Regions from separate parts of the Homo sapiens genome. Here all the other regions are linked to region 2. Evidence: promoter capture Hi-C in 16 types of primary human blood cells and fetal thymus (Javierre and others, 2016). All regions are on one chromosome and are shown on one strand. The core of a region is centred on a gene start or on the middle of the fragment in contact, and the rest is flanking DNA. Distances in the headings are between cores, read along the strand shown. Region 1 overlaps SLMAP (sarcolemma associated protein). Region 2 holds the start of ASB14 (ankyrin repeat and SOCS box containing 14). Region 3 overlaps SLMAP (sarcolemma associated protein). Region 4 overlaps SLMAP (sarcolemma associated protein).

What was found. The method cuts DNA at HindIII sites, captures the fragments that hold promoters and counts their contacts. A CHiCAGO score of 5 or more calls a contact.
Region 1: a contact is called between a fragment that was not itself captured here and the fragment with the promoter of ASB14 in region 2, in 4 of 17 cell types (total B cells, endothelial precursors, M2 macrophages and 1 more). The highest score is 7.0, in total B cells.
Region 3: a fragment that was not itself captured here is called in contact with the fragment with the promoter of ASB14 in region 2 in 1 of 17 cell types (naive B cells); the score reaches 5.3 in naive B cells.
Region 4: a fragment that was not itself captured here is called in contact with the fragment with the promoter of ASB14 in region 2 in 1 of 17 cell types (M2 macrophages); the score reaches 5.7 in M2 macrophages.

What each region holds. Positions count from the first base shown.
Region 1 is chr3:57,862,490-57,866,501 of GRCh38, reverse strand. SLMAP (sarcolemma associated protein) reads right to left here. Exons shown (of 25, transcript NM_001377540.1): 11 at 1,786-1,954; 12 at 1,645-1,695; 13 at 1,210-1,260. Among named protein-coding and RNA genes, the nearest start is that of SLMAP, 110 kb to the right of the region's middle. The HindIII fragment of the contact is 770 bases long and covers 1,069-1,838 here.
Region 2 is chr3:57,290,488-57,294,891 of GRCh38, reverse strand. It overlaps ASB14 (ankyrin repeat and SOCS box containing 14), which reads left to right and starts at 2,207. Exons shown (of 11, transcript NM_001142733.3): 1 at 2,207-2,259; 2 at 2,788-2,980. The coding sequence starts at 2,859. It overlaps DNAH12 (dynein axonemal heavy chain 12), which reads left to right. Exons shown (of 74, transcript NM_001366028.2): 74 at 921-1,192. The coding sequence ends at 1,111. It overlaps LOC124909384 (a long non-coding RNA gene), which reads right to left and starts at 2,101. Exons shown (of 2, transcript XR_007095923.1): 1 at 1,500-2,101. The HindIII fragment of the contact is 5,614 bases long and covers 1-2,606 here.
Region 3 is chr3:57,842,318-57,846,076 of GRCh38, reverse strand. All of the region lies in intron 4 of SLMAP (sarcolemma associated protein), which reads right to left. Among named protein-coding and RNA genes, the nearest start is that of SLMAP, 88 kb to the right of the region's middle. The HindIII fragment of the contact is 3,716 bases long and covers 307-3,759 here.
Region 4 is chr3:57,892,728-57,896,955 of GRCh38, reverse strand. It overlaps SLMAP (sarcolemma associated protein), which reads right to left. Exons shown (of 25, transcript NM_001377540.1): 16 at 365-445; 17 at 24-83. Among named protein-coding and RNA genes, the nearest start is that of FLNB, 110 kb to the left of the region's middle. The HindIII fragment of the contact is 1,317 bases long and covers 734-2,050 here.

The sequences.
Region 1 (4,012 bases), core at 204-2,703, 570 kb before region 2:
CATTACATATGCAAATAAGGTTTTGACCTTGCAGCTAACATACACACAATTACCTGAGCCTATACTGCCAGCTCTTGATTAAAACCTGACCAAACAAAACCAAACCAAAAAAGAACCAAAAAACCCACCTCCTAACTCTACCAGTTTGATTGCTGCCCAAGAACTATTATGATATCCCTTGATACATGGAAAAAATATTTTGTCTTTTCTTTTCTTTTCTTTTCTTTTTTAAAGACAGGGCCTTGCTCGTCACCCAGGCTGGAGTGCAGTGGCACAATTATGGCTCACTGCTGCCTCAACCTCCTGGGCTCAGCTGACCCTCCCACCTCAGCCTCCCACGTAGTTGGGACTACAGGCGCACACCACAATGCCTGGCTAAGGGAAAAAATATTTAATAAGTTCTGGGTATCAACTCTGATATCTTCGACTAACTTCTGTAGAAAACTGAGATGAAAGGCACATAGATTGGTAAACACAGAAAAGAGTTTAATTTCTACTGTACTCCAAGCACCTAGCGCAGGGTCTGGCACATAGTTGGTGCTCAATTAATGTTAGATGGAAGGGGAGAGAAGGAGAATGACTAGGGATCTTCAAGACTGAAGGATAATAGAGGTCACTGGGTAAAAAGTACCCCGTGTAGTGACAGGAAAACCAATAGTGGCTATATGTTTTTGGCAAGAGAGAACCCACGCTGTCCAGAAAGAAGGGTCACAGAACCAACAACTAATAAAAGATTTTTCTGATGGCAGAAAAAACTGACCCTGTTCTCTCTGATCAATGAAACAGATGGATAAACAAAGTAGTTTCTATGATATGTCCAAGGGCTCAATAAGCTGTTAAATAAACTCGAATGTTTTAAATGGGGGTCAAGTATCACTGGAGGCAGAACTTGATGAAACAAAATGGTAGTACAGCTCTTCGAAAAACAGAGTGGGGAAAAAGATCTATATTATATATTGCTAAAGGTGAACTTAATAATTTTCTGATTTGAGTAATTGAAATTTCCATATAACAAGGGATATCTAAGAATTGATCACAGCATCAACTCTTACAAAATAAAGGAAAGCTTGATTTTTAAATGATGGGGTTCAATGATCTGTGAGAGCATGCTTTTCATTCCAAACACTTAAAACCCTGAACTCCTTATCCTGCTTAAATACTAAAATGATATCATAAAAAGTATATATATATTTAAGTTTTTTACACTACCTTTTTCTGTGCTCCCATTTATTTTAGGTAAGAAGTCATCAACTTGTATCCCTAGGATTAAGACAGTATATCATTGCCTGATCAAAGAAGTATTACTTTAAATGTGGTCTCAAGTGTAACCATGGCATTCTGCATTCCTAAGATTAAGATTGTATAGAACACTTTAAAAGGGATCCTGCTGTTCATGTACTTTTCTTATTTAAATATCCCGAGGTAGAAGATCTCAGAGCAGAAATTTCACTCATCTCAAGGAAAACAATGGTGCCCACTGGTGGCAATCAAGCATATTTTTAAAGAAAATTTTCTAAAAGAATATAGATACTTTATACCTAATACATAAAACATCCCTTAAAAAATGCAGTGTGAGACAGTAAACAAGGTCAAAAGTTTAAGGATAAAATTCAGGTTTAAGTAAGAAATATGGATGCCACCTACCCAAGCTGCTGCATTCTTTAAGAGTTTTCTCCTGAAGATGTTCTAACCGTACTGTAAATAAAAGTCCAAAAAAAAAAAAGATATTTCACAGATAACAAGAAAAAAAATAAAATAAAATCAATTTCTGGATTAGCTACTTACCTTGTAAAGCTGTTAGCCTTTCATTGGTGAAATCATTATCAGCTTGCAAAGCTTCTATTTTTGCCTGGAGCTCCTGTTCTTTTTCTTCCATTTCATCTATTTTATGTTGTAATTCTTTTTTCTCAGCCTGTCCCTTCTGTTGGATTTCCTCTTGTTTTCCCTCTGCTACCTAGAAAAATAAGAAAATTCAGTTATTTAACAAACCTAACTCTGTTTTAAGAGCGAGCCCCAGGAATGCCTTTATTCACTTAAACTTCTAAGAAAAGTTTGTTCTGTAGAAAAGAAATGTTCTACAGAACATTATCTGTAAACCTGACATTTCTTTCTTTCTTTTTTTTTTTGAGATGGAGTTTCACTCTTGTTGCCTAGGCAACCTCCGCCTCCCGGGTTCGAGTGATTCTCCTGCCTCAGCCTCCCAAGTAGCTGGGATTACAGGCATGCGCCACCATACCCAGCTAATTTTGTATTTTTAGAAGAGACGGGGTTTCTCCATGTTGGTCAGGCTGGTCTCGAACGCCTGACCTCAGATGATCAGCCCACCTTGGCCTCCCAAAGTGCTGGGATTACAGGCATGAGCCACTGCGCCCGGCTAACCTGACATTTCTAAACCAGTAAAGATGATAAAGACAAAGGCTTGATGTCAAAAATTATCTGCATTGGGTTATTCCTCCATAACACCCAGGAGAGAGAAACTTGGAGGAAGCAAGTAGGCTCAGTACACACAGAGGTAAAGGGTCAATGTGGAAAAAAAAATCGTATTTTTAAAGAGGGAAGTAAGATTTTTCCCTAAAATTACTATCATTTCAATTTTGAAGTTCTATCATGTTAACATTCTGAAATTTTAAACAAAATTATTTAGTAACGAGATGACAGTACAATCACTATTCAAAAAGACCTCTCTGCCTATAGTTTGGATGTTCGTCCCCCAAGCCTCAATGTTGAAATTTGATCCTCAGTGTTGGAGATGGGGTCTAATGAGAGGTGTTTGGGTTATGGGAGCAGATCCCTCATGAATGGCTTGGTGCTGTCCTCATGGTAATGAGTGAATTCTCACTCTATTAGTCCTATGAAAGCTGGTTTTTAAAAAGAGCCTGGCACCTCTCCCAGACCCTCTCTCACCATGGAACACGTACCAGCTCCACTTTGCTTTCTGCCATCAGTGGAAGCAGCCTGAAGCTTCAGCCTGCAGAACTGTGAGCCAAATAAACCTCTTATCTTTATAAATTACCCAGGCTCAGCTATTCCTTTATAGCAACAAAAATGGACAATGACAATCTCCTTTTAACAAGACCAACTTTGAAAACTATCATAGGTTAACCAACGGAGGTATGCTCTGGTCTTCTCTAACAAACACATATCTTCTAGGCACTCAATCCATAGTTTGAATTAAACCAAGATGGACCTTCACAAACAGTTATAAGATTTTTTTTTTCCTCAGTTATAAGATTCTAAAGGACCAACTAGACATTACCCTATCATTACCCTATGATCTGATCTGTCCTTATCCTAGATGTCTCATAGATAGAGGGAATGGCAGCTAAAGCAGAGTTAACAGCATCCCTGAAAGCTAAAAGGGAGATCATTCCCAGATTCTCTCTGGGCTTGTTCCAGCACAGCACTAAATAGCTGGGCCCTGCCTTTTAGATGGCCTAATGATAAGCAGTTTTAGGTTTTAAAACATCTGAATATCATGGGTTTTGCTGATTCTCATCTACTTCCTGTTATATATTTTAGAAATGTCTATTGTGAAGCACTGACTACATATTCATCCAGAGGAACTATGTCAGCATTTACAGGCTTTCAATTATCTATAGTAATGGAGGTTGGGCTAAATGGAATACAGACACCTTATTTTCACTATAAATTTCAACTGTTACCAAATTTTTACATCAATAACTATTCAGCAATACCTAAAATCTTTTTTTATAGAAATCTTATTTAATATGTAGTACCACCTACATCCTGCTTTCATACTTTCAGCATAATTTAACACATTCAAGGAGACTATGCAAATCAATTCAAAATATCTATCTATACCAGTGGTTTTCAAACTGAATTTTTTTTTTTTTTTTTTTTTTGTGAGACGAAGTCTTGCTCTGTCGCCAGGCTGGAGTGCAGTGGTGCAATCTTGGCTCACTGCAACCTCTGCCTCCTGGGTTCAAGTGATTCTTCTGCCTTAGACTCCCAAGGAGCTGGGACTACAGGCATGTGTCACCACGCCCAGCTA
Region 2 (4,404 bases), core at 958-3,457:
AACCTATCAAATATTCTCATTACGAATGTGGTTCAGTTATAACTATGAGAAACGTGACCTTAGTTTGGAAAGACTCTTAATATCTTATATCTGGCTTTTTGGGGATTGTATATAGTTTCTTTTCATGAATTGGTAAGAGTTGACATGTTTTTCTTATTATTTACCTGCTAAAAACAAATAGAAACGTCAGCTTCTTCTAATGTGTGGGTTTCTTGGATTAGAGCTCTAAGCAGTTGTATTTCTTCTTTTGAGTCTCCCCCACTACCTATACTGTATTTTATTCCTTCTTCCCTCCCTTCTCATTCTCCCCTCCCAAATCCTCTTGAGTTTTCTCATGCCTGCTAAGCGGTCAGAACTTTAAAGTCTATTCCTGTCTTCCACACCTAGAATCATGCACCATACGAAATACTTGCCTTGGGCTGGGCGCAGTGGCTCACGCCTGTAATCCCAGCACTTTGGGAGGCTGAGGCGGGCAGATCACGAGGTCAGGGGTTCAAGACCAGCCTGGCCAACATAGTGAAACCCCGTCTCTACTAAAAATACAAAAATTAGCAAGGCATGGTGGCAGGCACCTGTAGTCCCACCTACTCAGGAGGCTGAGACAAGAGAATCGCTTGAACCTGGGAGGCAGAGGTTGCAGTGAGCCGAGATTGTGCCACTGTACTCCAGCCTAGGTGACAGAGTGAGACTCAGTCTCCAAAAAAAAAAAAAAAAAGAAAAGAAAAGAAATACTTGCCTTGTTTCACAACCGTAATACTATATGTACTGTAAAAAAATATATATGCTGTAAAACCTTCATATATCACAATTATGATCTTAGATTTAGTTCTGGCCATTTTATTACAAGATAAATAGTTCTTTTCGTACCAATGGCTGTTTTTCCCTTTATCAAGTGAATATATTTCTTTTTTTTTTTCAAGCTCAAAAATCTCGGATTATAAAGTCGGATGCCTATGTCTGTCCCCTCTACAAGACAAGTGAACGTAAAGGAACTCTTTCCACTACGGGACATTCTACTAACTTTGTCATTGCAATGTTGTTAAAAACAGACCAACCTACTCGGCACTGGATCAAGCGCGGGGTTGCTTTGCTTTGTCAGTTGGATGACTAAATTGGACAAATTTATAAAACATCCAAAAGTTTAAAAAAAAAAAAACCTGTCCTACTTAAAATATATACATTATAAAACCAAGTGTTTTGGTGTTATTCTTTTAAATGATCTTTGCAAACACTCATTGCATTGTTCTCCTTTCTGAGGAGAACTTTTTGAAGTTTGATTGTATGTGAAAAATAGATTTGGGGGTTAAACGGTAACATTTAACAAATATCAGGAATTATCTCCTTCACAAATGTTAAGTCATTCCTTCAGCTTCAGTATAGTTTACTTTCCACTCTCCTACCTAAAGTAATTATACATAAATATTTCAAATACATAAATTAAGAAATTATAAATATGGAAAATATTAAAAGTTACCCAACTATACCTCTTTATTTCTTACCTCTAAGACATCGGTTCCATTTCTCACTGCATCCTTGTGACTAGGAAAGGAAACTCAAAGCTGCGAAGTTGGCCTGCAAAGGCAGTAGGATGGCTTGAGGGCAGTCCGAACTTCTACACCTGCAGTGACAGTGTGCTTCTCGGCATTTGCTTCATATTTAATTTGAAATGTCAAGTGGTCCCTTTGCTTTTTTTAGTGTATATTAACAATTTAAAAATATTTCAACAAAACAGAATTTTGATCAAAATTTTATCTTGTGTAGAGTGAATTCTTCCCTTAGGATTCCAAGGACACTGAAGGCCACAGTTCTGTAACCCAAGGAAAATGTAGTCACAGCTACCTAGTGAATCTAGTACATTGGGACAGTCACTTTGGATAATTGGGTCAGAGCAAAATGTTTGGGTTCTCTTAAGTGAAAAATTGATTGTGGTTTGCAGTGGCTATGTGCATGAATTCTCTTTGCATGGCCAACCCCCTGCAAAAGCATTTTATTCCAGGAATAAAATATTTAATCCTTTAAATTTGATGAATGTAGCACTGAAGAAAAGAGATCATGTTTCCAAAAAGAGCTAAACCACATGTAAAAAACAAGGAGAATGTGCCAAACTGTCTTATGATGAAGTATTTATAGTAAAGCTATTAATGGAATGGTCACTACAGGGGAGAGGAGAGCCTAAATATAAATGAAAATTCTGAGGCTTACATGTGTTAGTCCTTAACAGTGAAAACTTCACTGCTGTCCTAGAGGATAAAACAAAAGGTAAAAAGTCTTTGAAATGTGACCAAATGTATTCTATGCTAAAACTGACATTTTTCTTTTAAAACCATTTAGATATTGCCTAGTAAGATACATTTGTTTTTACTACTGCTGTATCCATGTTGTAATTATGAGAATACATTTGTTCCTATAACATGTTTATTTTTAATGTATATTAAGTAAAATATTATTTTCAGCATCACACTGTGTGTAGGAAAGATATTATTTTGGATGAGTGCTACAATCACTGTGAAAGACTCACAGCCAAGTTGAACAGATCAGAGTGTTGTCAGTGTTAGAGTGGCACTAACCGAAGTCTTATTTGAAAGGTGGTTTTTCCTGAATAAGCTTTAAGTCAATGGCTACTCATGGAAACTTCTAATTTTTGTTGAATCTGTGGCAGTCCACAAAACTTTTTTAAGTTTATAGAAATTTTTTAGTGAATATTTTGTTTCCTAAATTTTGTATATTTTTCATTGTTAATCCTACCAATTTTCTAGATTTCTGAATTTCATTTGTAATTTTAAGCAGTTGATCTCTTCACAACTGGAAAAATACTTTTAATTCACTCTGACTTTAAAGTAAACCTGTCCACGTTTCACATGGATAATTACACCAGCGATGAAGACATAGATGAAGACTTTGACACCCAGCTCATCATTCAACAGAGTTTGCAGGATATTTATAAGCCAGGAACAGCACAACATGCACCTAAGGATGAGAGGTAATGGTTTTCTCATCGGCAATATAGTATTAAGTGTTGTATTCAACAGCTGACACTTGTCATTAGCTTAACTCTAGTGTTGTGACAAAAACAGGAGGGTCAGAATCCAAGGAGCTGTCAATTAAATATCTGTAAGATATTATGCCTAACTAGACAGGAATAATCTGGAAATAATTCAGAATTTAATTAGGCAATAAAAATATCTGAAGGAGGTTAGCAGCAAATCTGGGTGAGGTGATACAGACTGGAAATCAGAAGAAAGAAAGGAGGATATGAAGGGCTAGAGAAAAACTAATACATCTTGTCTTTGGGAATTGAAGAAATGCATAAATCCAACCGGGACACATAGAAAGTTAGTTATCTTCAACCTTAGTAGGGTAGGTGGGGATGGGGTCCAGTCTTTGATCTACTCAAATCAAAAGGAGGAATTACATAAACTTGAACAAGGCTTCTGAAAGTGTAGATTCAGAGTTTTGTTGGACAACACTGAAAAAGGACCAGTGGGACCCTGTGTGGGGTGTAAGAAGAATCGTCCTGGATATGGCACACCTGCTCACACGCTCGCTGGCCAATCAGCAACCTTGGTCTCCTGAGGCAGTAACCATCATTTTTTCAGGGGTGATAACCCAGTTTACTTGGGATGGTAATCTCTATTTGCCTGCTGGATGTAAAACTAGAAAAATGTCTTTTAACCCCAAGAGATTTCATAACTAAATAGAGACAATGAAGTACATCAAACCTATATAGTATTTTTAAAATGTAACAAACCATGGAGTGATCACTATGTGTCATGTTATTTTAAGCACTTCATAAATACTAACTTTTAAATTCTAATTCTCATTACCTCTCTATGAGGTAGGTCCTATTATTATCCCTACTTAGAGAGGAGGAAAGTGAGGCACAGAAAAGTTAAGTGGCTTACCCAAGGTCACAGAACTAGTAAGTGAAGAGCAAGGCAGTCTGATTCTAAAGTCTGTGCTCTTAGCCACACACTATTCCTATACTTTTGTGTTCAATTTAGGATTAGTTTTTAAAATAATCTTTAAATATTTAAAGTTTTGTAAAGAAATTAGCCTTATTAGATTATCTGTTATATTAACCTTATGATTAAAACCTTAAATTGCATAATTGAGTAACTGACTTTGAACTTACAATTTTAGGTTGAAAGGTATAAGAGAGTTGGGCTAAGGAGAGTATTGAAATGTTTCAGAGAAACTGAAATTGACTGTGGTTATGCATTTACTTGATTAGATTTGCAGGAAGTGTATGATACTTAGGCAGGCTTGCTGATTTAGTCAGGTACTTGAAGGAATTAGAAAACTAGAACATACTTGTGACATGTGGAGTAATGGTCCCATCCAAAGATGTCCTAATTTCTGGAACCTTACATGGCAAAGGAGAAGTAAGGCTACAGATGGAATTAT
Region 3 (3,759 bases), core at 915-3,414, 550 kb before region 2:
CGAGGTCAGGAGTTCGAGACCAGCCTGGCCAACACAGTGAAACGTCATCTCTACTAATAATACAAAAATCAGCCAGGTGCGGTGGCATGTGCCTGTAGTCCCAGCTACTTGGGAGGCTGAGGTGGGAGAATCACTTGAACCTGGGAGGCAGAGGTTGCAGTGAGCCGAGATGATGCCACTGCACTCCAGTCTGGGCAATAGAGCAAGACTCCATCTCCAAAAAAAAAAAGGTGGGGGGGAGATAATCATACAACCAATTCCATGGAGTTATTGGGGATATTAAATGTATTCATATGAATAAAAGCTTAAAACAGTGCTTTGGAAATGGACTTGATCACTACTATTACTCTCATGAGAATACAGCAGCTAAGGAAGCTGGAGTCCCTATTTTACAAATCCCTGTAAGATACTGTTTATGTTGGGGGTGAGTACAGGGGACTCAAAACAAGGCTACCACGCATGACCTCTACCAGCTGCTAATCACTCCACATCCTAGAGGCCATTCTTATAATGGTTAGCTTGAAGGTTGACTGAGTAAAGTTCTTAGCTTGAACTGATAAATCATATGTAAGCTGCTGAAAAACTGATTAGATGTGAGTTAAAAATAGGAATAATTTTGATCCCACCTTAATAACTGCAAACACTGTAAGAACTGGTCTAATTCAACTAGTCACAAATACACTAAAATGCTGAATAAAATGGAATATTAACTACCAGCACCCACCTCCCTTCTGAGCACCCATGATACAGACTTCATTGAGCCTACATAAACTTTACTGTCCTTCTTTGATTATACATCTGTGTTCTCAGGAACTATGACCTATTCACCTGTATATGCCCAAAGCCCATCAGCAGGCCCTAACAAAGTTGGTGCCTAGTAAAGATTTTTTTAAAATTATGTATAACTTTACTCCAGAACATTGAAATAGGCATTTTAAACAATAATTTATTTTTCTTGAATATAACAAATATTGATTATGGAAAATGTGTGAAGTAAATCATGAGGAAATACATAAAAATTACTCAATACCAGCACTCAGAGATAACCATTGTGGGTATATATCCTTTTCTCTGCAGATATGCACATATAGTGAAATGAACTTAAGAATGTCTAAATGCCAGATGATTTGAGGTTAGGAGTTTGGGAACAGCCTGGCCAACATGGTGAAACCTGTTTCTACTAAAAATACAAAAACCAGCCGGGTGTAGTGGAGGGCACCTGTAATCCCAGCTACCTGGGAGGCTGAGGCAGGAGAATCACTTGAACCTGGGAGGCGGAGGTTGCAGTGAGCCGAGATCACACCACCGCACTACAGCCTGGGCAACTGAGCAAGACTCCATCTCCAAAAAAAAAAAAAAAAAAAAGTCTAAATAGAAACAAATGGTATAATAGGGATTTTTTTTTTAATTCACCTTTCTTAGTGACCCAAGTATAAAATCTTCTCATAACAATCCCATTAATAAACAAATGGCTAAAAATCCGGCAACACATTCCATAAGTGATATACATCTGTATTTTACAAAAACTACCCTGGATATAAGTATATTCTGAAGTATGAATTAAGTTCATATGCATATACAAACCATAAGAAGGAAATGTGGAAAATGAAAATAGTTACTTAGTGTTAGAGTGGTGGGATTATATGCAATTTTTTTTTTTAATTTTTAAAATTTTTTTTTGTGGAGACAGAGTCTCACTCTGTCACCCAGCCTGAAGTGAAGTGGTCTGATTTTGGCTCACTGCAACTTCCGCCTCCGGGGTTCAAGCTGTTCTCGTGTCTCAGTCTCCTGAGTAGCTGGGACTACAGGCGCTCACCACCACGCCCGGCTAATTTTTTGTATTTTTAGTAGAGACGGGGTTTTGCCCTGTTGCCCAGGCTAGTCTCAAACTCCTGAGCTCAGGCAATCTGTCCGCCTCAGAGTGCCAAAGTGCTGGGATTACAGGCACGAGCCACCTGCGCCAGGCCTCTCTGTTTCTAATCATTAGAAAATGGTTGGCCCAGGTGCAGTGGCTCATGCCTGTAATCCCAGCACTTTGGGAGGCTGAGGGGAGCAGATCACCTGAGGTCAGGAGTTTGAGGTAGCCCGGCCAATATAGTGAAACCCCATCTCTACTGAAAACACAAAAATTAGCTGGGCATGGTGGTATGCACCTGTAATCCCAGCTACTTGGGAGGTTGAGGTAGGAGAATCACTTAAACCTGGGAGGTGGAGGCTGCAGTGAACCGAAATCATCCCACCGCACTCCAGCCTGGTTGACAAAAGTGAGATTCTGTCTCAAAAAAAAAAAAAAAAAAAAAAGAAAGAAAAGAAAGAAAGAGAGAGAAAGGGAGAGAAAGAAAGAAAGAAAGAAAAAGAAAGAAAGAAAGAAAAGGAAGGAAGGAAGGCAATTATTGGCTGGGCCTCTTTGTTTCTTATCATTAGAAAATTATTGACCAGGCCTCTCTGTTTCTTATCATTTAAAAATTATTGGCCAGGCGTGGTGGCTCAGGCCTATAATCCCAGCACTTTGGGAGACCAAGGTGGGTGGACTGCCTGTGCTCGGGAGTTCAAGAGCAGCCTGGGCAACATGGTAAAACCCATCTCTACTAAAAGTACAAAAAATTAGCTGGGCGTGGTGGTGTGCACCTGTAGTCCCAGCTGCTCAGGAGGCTGAGGCACAAGAATTGCTTGAACCCGGGAGGTGGAGTTGCAGCAAGCCGAGATTACTACACTCCAGCCTAGGCAACAGAACCAGGCTGTCAAAGAAAAAAAAAAAAAAAAAAAAAAAAGGAAAAGAAAGAAAGAAAAAAGAAAACAAAACAAAAGGAAAATTATTTGTGCAGTGTAATAAAAATTAAGGAAGGAAAAAAGTCAGCTTGTTGAGTACTTACTATCTTCTGAAGTTCTTAAAAGCAATAAATGCTATGTACACAATGGAACTTAAACTCTAGGCTTTCTGGCATACCCAAAAGCATCTTAATGCTTTTAAAAATTAGTTTACAGTAATAGAAACAGCTAAAGTTTATTGTGTGCTTATTATATGCCAAGTACTATGCCAAGTTCTTTAAGTACTAAATCTTGTTTAATTCTCATAAAATTCCTGTTAAATAGGTACTATCATCATCTTCATATTTCAAATGAGAAAAATGTTGCCTGATCAAGTCACAGAACAAGTGGAGTCAGACTTTAAACTGGACTACCCAACTCTAAAGGCCATTCTGATCTTCCTCCAGCTCTGGAGAATTGCTTGTTCAAAATTCATCTTCTCCAGAAAGTTAGATTATGTATAACTATATTGGCAGCAAAAATTTAAGTGATACTAATATTTAACCATATAAGAAAAGACAAACAATGAGAAGAAAATGGGCAAAGATGAAAAGAATTAGAGAAACACAAAGGATAGAGACACAATACATTCCAACTGACTTTGAAAAAATTTACAAGTTCTACTAGATGGAACCTGAGAACACAGATGATTCCTTACGTAACTGTTCAAAGTTTTCAAACTGCATGAAAGAAAAATCTCATTATCAAATACAAACATCAAGGTCTTTAAGAAGCAATATATCATTAGTTGATTAATAGTTACTCATTTCTAAAACCTTAATTCTTAACTCTTAAAAGCTAAGTTATATTAAACTTCCTAAAGTTTATTTTAATTTTAATAATTAAGCTGTAATCGCAAATAGAAAACACATTAATGTTTTAAATTTACGATATTACTTCATATGCCAAGGACAAAAAAAAAGGAAAAAAAGAATTAAAATGTTTTAAAAC
Region 4 (4,228 bases), core at 143-2,642, 600 kb before region 2:
GTCATAAAAACATGTTAAAGTACCTTTTAAAAGGGACACTTTGGCAAGAGGCTCATTTAGGTCTTGCTCATCCATTTGGGCGTCTACAGAGAGGAAAAAAATACATATATAATTACAGACAGTATTCAGATCTATCAGCAAGCTATTGTTATCAAAACAAACAATTGGAATTGATACAGCTATTATATTCGGGTAGTTGAAAGTAGTTTTAACAAAATATCCAGCATTCAAAGGGGATGACTTGATAAATGGAAGCGTTTTTTTTTTCCCCAAACACATACTTTGAAATCTCCACTCACATTGACCTATATAACTAAACTGCCATTAACAGCTGCAGGTCTGTAAACATTAGGTTAAAACTCACCTGTAGTGTCGTCACTGCTTTTTTCCTTGCTTGGACTCAGAGTATCTGAAAAATCAGATTCTTTTGCTCTTGTCTGATTTTCTACCAAGAAAAAAATAAAAGTAAAATCTTATTACAGTTAAATATCTTATATCAATAAAACTGCTTCAGGCTATGAATGCTCAAAATCTACAGGTACGCAAAGTACTTTTAAAATAGGTCAGGTCACTGAATCTCTTACTTCTTCACCACCCTTGTCCAAAATGGAATGCTGGTTATTACACGTAGCTCATATTAAATTATAATGTGGATCATGTCTGCTTTGCTGAGGGCTGGGGCTTTTGTTCAAGGCTGTCCACTTGCCAACTGGAAACAAAAACGAAGCAAGCTTTGCTAAAGTATTCAAAGAACTGCAACAAATATAGTACAATTCCCAGGACAATGCAGACACTGTATAAAGATGATTAAAGGAGAAGGCTCTGTTACATAAAAACACTAGTAAGAAGGCTGCTTTAGTAAGATTTGTACTCAAATAATAAAACTCTTAAAAAAAAACCACGATCAGTTCTTATAAAAAAGTGCCACTTAAAATAAGAAAATTAACAGCCTTTTATTTCTAAAGATAACTGTCCCTGAATCACAGTAAGAAAAAACTTTTTTTTTTTTTTTGAGACAGCGTCTTGCTCTGTTGTCCAGGCTGGAGTGCAGTGGGACAAACACAGCTCACTACAACCTTGACCTCCTGGGCTCAAGGGATCCTCCTGCCTCAGCCCCCTGAGCAGCTGGAACTTCAGGACCATGCCACTATACCCAGATATCTTTTTTAAATTTTTAGTAGAGATGAGGTCTTGCTATGTTGCCTAGGCTGGTCTCAAACTCCTGGGCTAAACTGATCCTCCCGTCTCAGCCTCCCAAAGCACTAGAATTACAGGCATGAGCCACTGCACCTGGCCAAGAAAAAACTTTTTAAAAAGTTTAGGGCCAGGCGCAGTGGCTCACGCCTGTAATCCCAGCACTTTCGGAGGCTGAGGTGGATGGATCATGAGGTCAGGAGTTCAAGACCAGCATGGCCAAGATGGTGAAACCCCATCTCTACAAAAAATACAAAAAATTAGCTGGGCATGGTGCTGGGCACCTGTAATCCCAGCTACTCGGGAGGCTGAGGCAGAGAATTGCTTGAACTCGGGAGGTGGAGGTTGCAGTGAGCCGAGATTGTGCCACTGCACTCCAGCCTGGGTGACAGAGCAAGACTCTGTCTCAAAATAAAGAAAGAAAGAAAGAAAAAAAAAGTTTTGAAATTGTTTACAAGAGGTCTTCTGCCTGGTCCAATGAAGCCATCTTAGGCCTAATTTTCAAAGAACTGTCCTCAGAAATCCTAACTATAGGCCCAATAGTTTATTAAAGATGACTGGCAATTAATTAGGCCCCAGATCCTCATCTGTAATGGCACATCTGTACATACTATGGAATTCCTTTCTTTTTTTTTTTTAGAGGGGGTGTCACTATGTTGCCTAGGCTAGTCTTGAACTCCTGGGCTCAAGTAATCCTCCCACCTCAGCCTCCCAAGTGCTAGAATTACAGGTGTGAGCCACCACACCTGGCCTATGGCATTCTTTAGGGTAGCATTTGCAGAAAATGTCATTTCTCTGAATGAAATCCTATATGGAAATCCTATCTCCCCATTCTCCACAAGGCCTCAGTCAAGCTTTACATAGCAGAATTTAGCCGTAATCTGGTCCCTACATTATTTCCCACAGGAGCTCTGCTCTGGTCATGCTAGCTTCATTATAGGGCTAATACATGCCTGCATTATGTCCTGCAATTATTTGTTTGATTCAATATTTCCCTAACCTCAAAAGAGCCATTTTCTCTACTTGGCCTATTCATTCTGTAATATACAGTTTAAGTCCCATCAACTCTAAGGAAGTCTTCATTTCTCCACCATGGTGCTCCTTTTAATTGTATCTTTGTGTCTTTTGTTTCCTCAATTAATCATACTTTATTTTGTATTATTCTGTGTATATGTATATATCTTCTTTCCTTAGTGAGATTATAAATTTATAAAGCATATATTTTTATAATGTTACAGACCTGATTTCACTGTTTGTACATGCATGCCCACTTCTAGTACTTTTCCTAAAGGAAGTAACACAGCACATATGCGATACATAATGCTCACTGAAGTATTGTTCATTATGGGAAAATGAAATACATATATTATGGAATGAAAACTATTCAAGATATATTTACTACTAAGTAAAAAGCCTAATAAAGAGCAGTATGTATAATATGACCCCATGTAGATTAAAAATAGTTATACATTTATCTATGAATTTTTAATTGCATATATTTATTCAAGGTCTGGAAGGATCTACAACAGAGACATCATTAGTTATTTTTGGGGATAGGGACATGGTGGACATTTACTTTTTAACTTCACATAGTCATACACTGAAAAATTTGTAGATATATATATATATTGTTTTAAAATCAAGGAAATTAAAATATATTTTCTATTTTGAAAGAAATTAGAAACACATCTAAAACCATTACTGTCAAAATATTTAATACAACATTAAAATATAACTTGTTATGGCTATTCCATATAAGAATACCCCCAGAATTTGTGGCTTAACTTGTGAAATGGGTGATGAATTTCAAGAAGTCTTTGCTTCTTTTCTCACTGCCATTTGTAGTCAAAGGTCAACTGCTTAGTGACGGGGAACTTAGATTAGAAGTGAAGTCACTGGCCATGGAGGCCCATGGGAATCTAATCTGTGACCGCTGCTGCATTCATAGTATGCTAAAATCAGACATTTCTGAATGTTCTAGTTTCGATCACAAAGTTACATTCTCAAATAAAAGAGGCTAATACATCTAATCTCCATATATGGTTACAAAAGGAACCACTCTGGAAGAACAAAAAGGAAAACAGGAAAACAGCTCTCCCTGATTTTAATATTTTTGGCAATTTTAGGATTAAAATATTAGGTAAATAGGAAGTATATTTGCAAAAGTATTCTTCTAGCCTAGAAGGAACTCTTACTCTATATTTAGAGTATTAGCTGGGAAGGTAAAGTTGCCTTAAAGGTAGGGCCAAATTTTCCATCAAGATCTCATTGGAATATAACTCCCTGATGGCAGAGATTGCCTGTTTTTTTTTTTTTCTTTTCTTTCTTTTTTATTTTTCAGACAGGGTCTTGCTCTGTTGCCCAGGCTGGAGCACAGTGGCACAACTGCAGCCTTGGCTTCCTGGGCTCAAGCCATCCTCCCACCTAAGCGTGCTGATTAGCTGGGACCACAGGTGTGCACCACCACATCTGGCTAATTTTTTATTTTATTTTTTTGAAGAGATAGGGTCTCCCTATGTTGCCCAGGCTGGAATGTCTGTTTCATTAACTGCTATATTCCCAGTGCACAGAACAGTGCCTAGTACCTAGTAGGTATTTTTTTTTAAAGGATGATTGAAAGCATATATCTACTCTGAATAAGAAAGCAACTTTGGTAATCCCAGCACTTTGGGAGGCCGAGGCGGGCGGATCAAGAGGTCAGGAGATCGAGACCATCCTGGGTAACACAGTGAAACTCCATCTCTACTAAAACTACAAAAAATTAGCCAGGCGTGGTAGTGGGTACCTGTACTCCCAGCTACTTGGGAGGCTAAGGCAGGAGAATGGCACAAACCCTGGAGGCAGAGCTTGCAGTGAGCCGAGATTGAGCCACTGCACTCCAGCCTGCGCAACAGAGCGAGACTCCATCTCCAAAAAAAAAAAAAAAAAAAGAAAGCAAGTTTGTGTGTGTATGTGTGTGTGTGTGTGTGTGTGTGTGTTTTAAGAGACAGTGTCTTGTTACGTTGCCCAGGCTGGTCTCGAACTCCTGGGCTCA